Linked DNA regions of Homo sapiens: region 2 is linked to region 1. Evidence: promoter capture Hi-C in human tissues and cell types (Jung and others, 2019). All regions are on one chromosome and are shown on one strand. Each heading gives the region's core, a stretch centred on a gene start or on the middle of the fragment in contact. The rest is flanking DNA. Distances are from core to core; before and after follow the strand shown. Region 1 holds the start of ATP2B1 (ATPase plasma membrane Ca2+ transporting 1). Region 2 has its middle 61 kb from the start of LINC00615.

What was found. Contacts are between HindIII fragments. The study calls those that stand out against the background at their distance.
Region 2: a contact is called between a fragment that was not itself captured here and the fragment with the promoter of ATP2B1 in region 1, in 1 of the 25 tissues and cell types used here (dorsolateral prefrontal cortex).

The regions. Positions count from the first base shown.
Region 1 is chr12:89,706,474-89,711,449 of GRCh38, reverse strand. It overlaps ATP2B1 (ATPase plasma membrane Ca2+ transporting 1), which reads left to right and starts at 2,612. Exons shown (of 21, transcript NM_001366521.1): 1 at 2,612-2,854. ATP2B1-AS1 (ATP2B1 antisense RNA 1) reads right to left here and starts at 2,495. Exons shown (of 1, transcript NR_028138.1): 1 at 1-2,495. RefSeq lists silencers at 1,374-1,923, 1,944-2,963, 3,114-3,343 and enhancers at 3,534-3,633, 3,644-3,733. The HindIII fragment of the contact is 9,648 bases long and covers 1-4,976 here.
Region 2 is chr12:90,854,380-90,859,938 of GRCh38, reverse strand. No RefSeq gene overlaps it. Among named protein-coding and RNA genes, the nearest start is that of LINC00615, 61 kb to the left of the region's middle. The HindIII fragment of the contact is 3,936 bases long and covers 1-3,635 here.

The DNA.
Region 1 (4,976 bases), core at 1,363-3,862:
TCGATATAAATGAAAACTTAATTGAATCGTGTTCTTAAATAAAGATGCTCAATAATTGTTTCATGACCACAACACTTTAAGAGCATTCATTTTATAATCTGGAACTGGAACAAACCCACAAAGTGAACAGATTCTAGTTTATTACCCATTTTGCTAGTGTACTATAGCAATGATTCACATATTACTTTAATGTCAAATTCTTGATTAAAGTAGAATACATAATTCAACATTGTATTGTAACTTCCTTGGAGGAAAAGTTGGAAAAAAGCCAGTGATTCTTAAATGTCTCTGAGTCGTTTTGAAAGATATTTTAGGGGGAAATAATATTGAAATTTATTAGGTGAAATTTAGGTTATTCTTCTGTTAAAAAGATTTGAAATAGTGTCAGGAAGGGCTATTTATTGTACCACATTAACCAATTCTCCATCAGTGACTGAAGAGAGGAAAAATGCTATCATTCTGTTCAATGTTCGTTTATCTTACACATCAAGGGCACAGCTCAGAAGGCTGGTAATGTCAAGCCTAGTGAGATACATAAACTGATAAAAAAATTATTTGCAACAGCATTGATTTATATTTATTCACTTTTAAACGTCTTTTACACATTTTGTGTCTAATCTTTTAAAATATTTTAAAACAAATGCTATCATCAGATCGTGAACATAATACCATACTTCCTATTGCCTGTATGCTTTTGAGGAGGCTATATAAATATTAATTTTCCAGTTCTGGAATTAAGAGAAAGAAGATTGCAGAACTTATCTTTTTGTTCTGATTAACTGATACTGAAAATAACACTGACAAGGTCTCTGGGCCAGTGGCGACGGTGAGTTCAAATAAAGATTAGATGAAGATGAAGCGCGGTATCTTAGGTAAGATACACATCTTTACTGTGTATATGCGTGTACAAGAAGGAAAACTTGCTTTTTTTTTTTTAAGTAGATGTTACGAAGGATGGTTTTTTTTTTTTTTTCAACTTGCAAAATCTCTTGAAGGTTGGAGCAGAGCCGCCGGTTACCTTTGAGCATCGAAATACCGCAAGTTATCCCGTTTCCTTTTCCCCTCAGGAAAGATGGGTGCAGGGTTGAGATGTTACAAGAGAATTAAAAGAGAGCCACCAGCTTGGCATAGTAGAAGAAACAAACCCAAAATGAAAACACCCGGATTTTAAGCGCGGATCCTGCGAGGCCGGTTTGCACTGGCCGAACGCCTGCGTTAACCCTTTGGGCGCCGCAGCTGGGATCCCCGGTGTTTGCGGACCCGACCGGCAGGAACAGAGATGGAGTGTCCCGCGCCCGCATGGGGAGTGAGCTCTCTTCCCCAAAGAGGGAGCGAGCCGAGAAGCACTTTTTCCTCCGGTGCGTGCGTCACGGCCCGGGACAGGCGTCGAGTCCGGTTTGGAGTGGGGGCAGAGACGCGGCGAGGAGCCGCTCAAATGTCCGCTGACTGGGGGTTCGCCTTAATCTGTCCTCGCCAGGAGCGCTCGCCCTCGCCCTCCCGCTGGCTCGCTCCTGGGCCCTGGAGGGGCATGGGCCCGGGGGCGGTTCGGGAGGGGCCCCAGGTGAAGGGCGCCCGCACTTCTCCTGCGGCAATCATCGCTCTCCTGCCTCCACACGTCGCGGCAGCGGCCCGGCCCCGCGCCGAAACAGCAGCTGTGACTGACGGAGTCACCTCCCCGCGCGCCTGGCCACCCCCTCCTCCCCCGCCGCTCCCTCCTGCACCAACACGTCATGGAAACACGGACGTCAGAGCCTCTCAGCCAATCGCAGGCTGCGGCAGGAGGGAAGGGGCGCGCTGGAGGGGGCGGGGGCAGCGGCAAGCCAAGGCGCTCAGGGGAAGGAAGAAAGGGAGGGGCGTGCGGAGGCGCAAGTCCCCACCTCCGCCCCTCACTCCGGCCACCCTTTCCCGACCGCGCGGCAAGTTCTAATCGCCAGGCGCGCGCTCGCCAGCCGAGGGCGCGCTCGCCGGGTCCTCCCCTTAAACGCCCTCCCAGTGCCGCTCAGCTCCCAGTCCCGGTCCGAGCCGCGGTTCCTCCGCGCGCGCGCGCGCGCACTCGCCCGCCCCCAGGCTCCCCGCGGATCGCGTCACGTGACCGCGCTCAGCCAAGGCGGCAGCGGCGGCGGCGCGAGCTTCGGCGGCGGTGGCGGCTGTGGCAGCGGGAGCAGCTGCGCCGCCAGCGTGGAGCGGGAGGCGTGTGGGTGTGGAGAAAAGGGAGCGCCAGACCGGAACGGGTGAGCGTTCTCCTCCCCCTGCCTACCCCGGCAATCTTGCAGGCCACCCGGTGCAGACGGGGTCCCTGCCCGGAGCTGCGCGCAGCCCCCTCGTGCTCGGCCGTCCGCTCTCCGGTGCCCGCGGGCCCCGCCCCGAGTGGGGCGGGCTGCGGCGCTCACGGAGGTGGCTGCACCCCGCCCGCGGCTGCTGTTGCGGACGGCGGCGTGAGGCCGGCTGAGCTGCCCGTGCCGAGCGAGCGCGGCGCGCCCTGTGTGCCGCTCTGCGGAGCCGAGGAGGCGGGTCCTGCGGGGACGCGGGCGGCCACTCGGTGGCTGCCGGGCTCTGGGCGGGGACGGCCGGGCGCCGCCTCCTCCTCCTTCGCTGCCGCCGCCGCCTCCTCGCAGTGCAGCGTGAGTAGGGAGCCCCGGCTGGTGGACGCCGAGCCTCTCGGCTCCTTGGCCGCCCCATCCCCGAGGTGCAGCTGCACCTCCGCGTGGCGCCCCGAGCCCTGCGAGCCGGCTGCGGACGCGCTGAGGACGGAGCCCCCATCCTCTGCGTTTCCCGCTGCCCCTTAACGCCCCGCGACCCTCCCGCAGCCTGCCTTTCCTTCCCCCTCGGAAAATGGTTCCCACTGCCGGGCGAGGTGAGTGGCGGCCGCCGCCCGCCCGCGGCCGGGGGCGGCGGGGCAGGTCACCTGCGGGGGAGGCCAGGCGGAGCACGGAGGTCGGGCGTCGCGGCGGGGATCCTGATAGCTGGGTGCGCAGCGGGTTGCGCCGGATTCGGGAGAAGCTGACGGGGGCGGTCGGGGCCCCTCGCAGGTTGCCTCTTGCCGGGAGATTGTGAAGGTGAGCGGGCTTCTCGCCGTGCACCTCAGCGCCGGGTCAGTCTGGGAGTCGCTGCTCCGGGCCCGAGGGATGGGGCTTGTTGGGGCTTCTGGTCTACACCCGCAGGTCTTCGGCTTCACGAAGCCGCCTCGGCCGCGCCACAGCCCATCCCGCCACCGGTCGCCCCCGCCACGGCGCGTGGTGACCTTGAGGGCACCGTGCCCGGCACTCCCTCTCCCCGCGCCCCGGGAGGGTCACCCCTCTAATCCTTGGCCTCGGCCCCCCAGACGCACTGCGGGAGGGGAGCGGGGGCCCCTGGTCGGCCCCTGGCCCTGGTGGTTGATTGTTGGCGTGTCAGGACGGTGATTCCTCGGGAGTTGGAGAGCCGCCTGGTCTTTCTCCTCACGCCTTCCGTCTGGCCCCCCAGGATGTTCACAGTTGTTTCCGATTCGTGTTTATTCACTTAGTTTAAGAGAAAAAAGCCTGCGCCCCCACCTCCCTTTTTGAGGAAGGAGTCTGTAGGAGGACCGCGTTCCAGTGGCAGGGGTGTGGGGTGGGGGCTGTGCTCTCTTTATCCCATCCTGCGGGAGAATCCTGTGGCTAAGCTGGTTAGCGACCCCTGGTTCTGCGCCGCGGTCACCAGCCAGGTTGGTCTCTGTGCGCATTTCATTCACCAGTTTTCTGCGGGACTCGCAGCGCTGGGAGTGCTCGCACCCTGTGCGCTGCTTGGCTCGGAGGGGAGGGCAGGGCGTCCGGGTGGGTTAAAGGGGTCTGCAGGTACTTGGAGGGCTCGACCCTCCTCGACAGGCTGATATTTACCTTTTCTTTGGGTTAGAGCGCTGCAGACAGCCACCTTTCGCTTCTGTGCCCGCTACTTTTCTTGGTTTATTAATAATCTAATGGCTTCTGTTGGTATCGATTGCTGTTCGTGATAAATTAGCTACATAGATTTTTTTCATACGTGTGTAGGTATATGCATATATCTGAACTTGTCTGCCTGTCAACATGGAAGCCTTTGTTGTGTTTAACCTCCCCCACCTGAGGACAGTCTTATTTTAAAATAAGGCTTTTGTTCAGCGTGGGTGTATTTTATAATAAGAAGTACTTGTAAGGGCCTGGTTTGTATGAGGCTCTCATCTGGCAGAGGGTGTGTAACCCTTTGGATGGTGGCCCACGTGAGTGAATGGAGGGCCTTCACCACTTGCCCCGATGCCAGCCTTCCCGAGACTCCCTGTCCTTGTGTGTGGCAGGGGTGGATTGGGGGAATTAAGAGGGATTGGAGGAGAATCTGCTTTTTGTACTTGTGCGTTTCATTTGGGTCCTCCTCCTCCCCTCTCTTTTTCTTTATCCTCCTGGTGAGTTCAAATTTGAAGTAAATAGAAACATTTTTTTTTTAATTGGGAACCTTTGATAGCTAGTATATGAAATGGGCTTATTTAGCTATGATTTCAGGAGGACGTTTTAGTTTTTACCTTGCTTTAGATAAGACAGCTAAATTGCTGTAATTAAGGGTGGATCTCTGTCCTGATTTTGGCTTGGGTGTAACTGCAAAGATCTTTGAAAAGTAACTGTTAATTTCCTACCATATAGTCTGCAAAAGTGAGTCACATTCGGGTGAGTTGAGGACAGAGCGCCACCTTTAATTTAAAATTTCGTGATTTTCTTTTATTAAAATGGTGAAAATTCGGGGTACGCCTTCTTGATTTTTATCGCAGCTGTCATTATTGGCATCCCCATTTTGACGTGTAAGGGGGAATTGTCTTCATTTTTCTGTATTCTCTCATTTCTCTTTTGAGAGAAATTTCTGCAATTGTATGGGAAATCTTTTTTTTATTGAAGCTTGGGATTTTAGCATTCTGAGATGAGATGAGAAACTAGTTTTGATTTGTGTTTATAATAATATTGATGGTCTGGATATTCTTGGTAAAAGAAGGAAAGTAA
Region 2 (5,559 bases), core at 418-2,917, 1.1 Mb before region 1:
AATAAGTTTTCTTGACTTGTACAGAAAAACTTCTGAATGATTTGAGTTTTGCCCAGGGGACATCTACATGGGAATGCAAGTATATAGTTAAATATTTGAACCTTGAACTCACTAAGAGTCTTGGCTAAAGATAAATATTTGGAAGCAGTGAATCAATAGGCAGTAATTGTAACCATGTGGATGTACATATGGATTATTTATGTATGTATGATGGATGGGTTTGCTCAGGCTTTCAAGTTAGTTATTTCCTTTTATGGGTCATTAAAGTGATATGTCTATACACTATGAAAACATGCTACATTCTGTGTCTGTTTACATGTTTATTTCTTCTGTAGAAATAGGAACTCCTGTGGACAGCTTGTGTATATTAATATTTCTGGTGTCAAATGTTTAATAACTAATTGAAGAAAAGTTACAGAGAAAGCTTTAAAATATACTCTTACATTGAGTATGACATTCTCTACCTGAAAGTTCACTCATAGAGCCAGTAATGATGTGTTTTTTCTCCAGAGTTTGGTGGGCTTTCATAAACTCATTTTATAATCTAACTCAGATTCCCTTTCATTACTATGTATTAAAGGAAAGGGCATTAAAATTGCAAGCTGTTGTTTCAGAAGAAAGTTCTTGGTATGCAATTATCAAATATGTCCGTTAGCTGTATGTACTCTCTTTTCCCTAAGCAATCCCATTGAGTAGATGATATAAATGAAATACTGTTTATAACCAAAAGTTTCTAAAATTTTTATTTGTTGAAATTCTGTGTTTTCCAAATGTTAAATACTTTAAGCAGAAAATGTTTAATCATATTATCAAATGAAGAGTAATAAAATAAAAGGTATGATTTTGTAGCCAAGAATATTTAAAAAGAGGACTCTGAAACAATTATTGCAATAAAAAATTTTTAAAAAGCACAACTTTCAATATTTTTCTCTCCCACATTTTTGTTTGCTCATGTGCAAATAAAACAAATGAAGCAAAATTTCTGTCTGTAGATGACATGGTTTGTGTTTGTCTTTTTCTAATGTAGTATTTCTTGTACTTGTGCAAAATGTAATTATTATTACCAAAGGATTAAATATAAATTATAGTTAGAAAAACGGGTAACAAATAGACATAAAAAGTAACATCTTCACAGGAACTCAACAAATAAAAATACATTAACCTCTTAAAAGCAACATTCACTTACAAAATTCTATCATGTAACTTAGCTAGTTTCTGCAGAACTCTTTAGCAGCCATCAATTTGATACAGAAGAAAAGGATAAACACCAATTAGGTAAACAGTTAAGGCTGGTCCTCAGAGAAGCACCCTGCCTGAAAAATCACAGCTACAGGCAAAAATAGAGCAGGCTGGGGAAAACTTGGGCTGCACCTGCACAGATAAGCAGGCAAAGCAGGCATGGTCCAACACAGAAGCCTTTTGTTCTTTGTGTAATTGGCAGGCACCCAGGAAAAGTTTCCTCCCCTTCTCAGACATGTATACGATGGGAACTTGCACAGGGAGGAGAGGGGCTTACCTAAAACAAACCCACATTTATACAAACAAAAGAAGTGCACATTGTGCCTGCCTAGAGACATACCCAGAACTACATACGCAAGGGGGAATTATGCAGACAGCTTTATGGATAAGAGAAGTTACTCAAACAGCTATAGAGATGAGAGGAGTTTCTCATAAAAGCTTTTGGATTCAACTGTAAAAACAGCAACCCACTTGGGTTCCCCTCTCCACTGAGGAGAGCTTTTTTCTTTCACTTATTAAACTTTCACTCCAACCTCACTCTCTTTGTGTCCTCAATTGTCTCAGTCATGAGACAACAAGATCAGATACTACCTTAGATGAGACCAGTGACGTTCCACTGTTTCAAATTAACATAGTAATCTGAAATACTCATTTGAATACAATTTTAGTTTTTTTAATCACTATGAAGTTAATCTCTGCATAATTATTTCAGTGTAAAGCAGTGTCACATACATCCACATCATGTATCTTTTGACCTTTAGGTTGTGGACTCAAACCTTGAAATTTATTTGTTTACCCCAAACCTGATAGTTCTCCTAAAGTCAAAGCTTTGCTTTCAATACATATGCAGCACTTTCAAGGTAAACCATGTCACCTTGGAAATTGTTATAAGATTTTTTAACTGCATTCAACTTTGCGCAGTTTAGATCAGAGTGTTCCAGCTTAATTTCTGAATCTCATATGATTATTAAGATAATAGAGAAGCAGGGAGTGGGGATTGTGAATCCAGGTTGCAGAATTTCAAGTTTTTGTTTAGTTGCTTCCCTATGACTAATGAAATCAGCATAAAGTAGTGTTCATTTTGGGGTAACTCTGACCTATGAAGTGGAGGAATTTAGAAATATTTAAAAATCACTTCTAATTTTGTATCAAATAGCAGGTTGATAGAGCTAAAAGATGTAGTAGCAGTGAGATAACTGAGTCGTTTGTATCATTTAGGCAGAACCATTCTATAACCGAAGGCTTTCTTTATTCTAAAAGCTGATAATTATAATTTATTCTTGAAGCATACACTTAACACTTTTGTTTGAGTACATAAAACAGCAGACAGTGTTTGAGTGTTATATCAATCATTTTTACCTACATTTTTCCTCTCTCATGATAAAGAGACTTTTAGAAATAAAATTCAGATGAACCAAGTAACAATCACAGAGTCAGTGAACAAAAACCCCAATTAAAATGGAGAACTTAGAAATTACTCAATGAATTCAATTCCTTAAAGTATATCATTTTTTTCACAAAACAAGTAACAAGCCTGCCCTCCTTTTCCCTAACCTATAATTTCCCTACTCCCATCTTTGCCCCAAATAATCTTATTGCCTGATTCATTTTTCTTATATAATAATAATGATAATAATAATAATGTGTCACCATTTACCTAGCTCTTAAAATGTAAAACTTTCTGTGCAAAAGAACTTGGCATATTCTGTCTCTTCTAATTCTTTGAATAAATGCAGAGTTAGGTAGTATTTTACATTAGGAAAATAGATTCAGAGACTAGACATATCTAAATTAAAGGCACACAGGTACTAAATAACAGAGCCAGGATTCTATTTAGGTTAGTCTGTTTACTCCATCTTTGATGGTGTTAACCACCAATCTATAAGGCATCCTTGAAGGATCAGGACTCAGGAGGCCTAAAAAGTTAGATAGAAATCTCTAACTTAAAACTTTACAACCTAAAATAATGCATGATTTTCCCTTTCAGCATTTATGTACATTAATATGGATGTGTTTTATTGTAGCCCCAACTGTATGCATGGCATTGATGATCTTACCAAGTATTTTTAACTGCTAAAATAATTTTCCATTGTATAATAAAATTACATTAGACTAAAATCTTTTGAATTTTTAGGTTGGCACAAAAGTAATTGAGGTTTATGCCATTGAAAGTCAATGTATGCCAACCTAATATTATTTAGTTTTGGAATAGAATGCATTTTCTCTCTTTCAGTCTTCTTTCTTCATTCTTAATAACATTTCTAGAATATATCCTAAAGTTTATACTGAGAAAAAACTCAGGTATTTAATACATGGTCAAGATGCAAATACATAGAAATGTGTGTGTGTGTGTTTGTATGCAAATGTATATATACATATATGTATATTGCATGCATGTAATAGCATATACAATTATGAATATATATACTGCAAATATATGTATATCTTTTTTATTTAAGGAAATATTCTGAAGTCAAAAGAGCATTAAATATTATAAAACTAAGTGAAGATTAGAGAACTAATATTCTTTAACACAATTCTAGGCATTAAAACGGGTAGTGGCAAATGAATTCTGAAAAGCAGAATCTTAAATGAAACTGAAAAAGATGCTATGTTACTGCCATGAATTTAACATGAACGTAACTTGTCTCTACCTGCAGGTGTTAAGTGTGACATTTCTTTGTTTTTACAGTGAAGTAGAATAAGTATCACAACTCTTAAATGTATACAATAAAGGAAATTTTGGTTGCAAAAGAAGCATGTAGTTGTGTATTTGACTTTTACAATATCATGGTACTTTAACCCTGATTATCAACCTGAATATTCTCCTTCAAAAAAGAAAAGAGAAAAAGAAAAATAAAGATCTTAGTAACTCAGAGTAAATTATTGAAAAGTGATCTGTTTTATCTCTGCCTGCCTTGAAGAAATATTGTGCTTTAAAAGGTTTTCATGTAAACAGGACACATTGACTCTTTTCTTTCTCCCTCCTTCCTTCTTTTTTGTTGTCTGTCTCCTTTTTCTCCCTTTCCTTTCCCTCTCCTTCCTTCCTTCCTTCCTTCCTTCCTTCCTTCCTTCCTTCCTTCCTTCCTTCCTTCCTTCCAACTAACTTGTTCATTTTGAGTCAACGCTGTCCCCACTAACTGCCATGGTTTTTGCAACAGAATATTGTGGAGTGAATAAGCACACATACTGTCTAATTTCCCATTCCTCGTACACAGCACTAATCCCAGAGCTCTGCAACCATACTTTAGTCAGAAGTTGTATTGATAAAATATTATTTTCAATTATTACATAAACATAGAATTCTTGTACTGTAGAAAAGTTTTGATTTTGTTTTGTTTTGTTTTTTAGATGGGTGGGGCTGTAGGTGCAGTGGCTCATGGCTGTGGTCCCGGCACTTTGGGAGGCCAAGGCAGGAGGATCATTTGAGCCCAGGAGTCCAAGACCAGCCTGGGCAACATAGGGAGATCCCATCTCTACAAGTTTTTTTTTTTTTTTTTTTTTTTTAATTAGCCAGGTATGGTGACATGTGCCTGTAGTCCAGGCTACTTGGGAGGCTGAGGTGGGAGTATCCCTTGGACCAGGGAGTTTGAAGTTGCAGTGAGTCATGGTTGCACCACTGCACCGTAGCCTGAGCAGCAGAGCTAGACCCTATTTCAAAAATAAATAAATAAATAAAGAAAAGAAAAGAAAAGAAAAAGGAAAAAAAAAGAAAGGAAGGTAAAAGAAACTCGAGGAGAGACAGCTGCTGATTCCTTTTTGGATATTTGTGCATTAAGTTATGAAAATGAGTCCTAGACACACTTTAGTGCCGGGGAGCTGTGACATCCTCCTAAAGACCACTGTTCGTTATGGCCAAGAACCAAATAAGGTCTAGTGGATGGTATAACATGTATTATTTGTAATACCTTCATTATTGAGGGGGTTTCCTCAGGAGGATTATCTGTCCAGAAACATCAGAAAGCTTTGCTAAGAGGATGGCAATGCAGGAGGTAACTGCACTTGCTCTTCAGTCTGAAACCGCAGAGTAATTTCTGTCCGTCATAGAAACATTATAACAATGGGGCACTCCCTTTTAAAGAAAATGCCAGGGCTCCAGTAAGACGGGGCTTGCTGAAAAGAATTAAGGTGCAATGGAGGGAGATGTTGCAGGGCTTGCAGAACTTTGTGCTATGACTCATTTGCAACCTTTTGCAAAACTTAATGTGGCAAAAGTACTGGGTTATTATGATGTACCATGTGGTATCCCAATTTGTCATCTTCACTTGACATAGCTTTTATTGAGGGGTACAAGAAGAAACCCCACATTGGCTGAGGAAA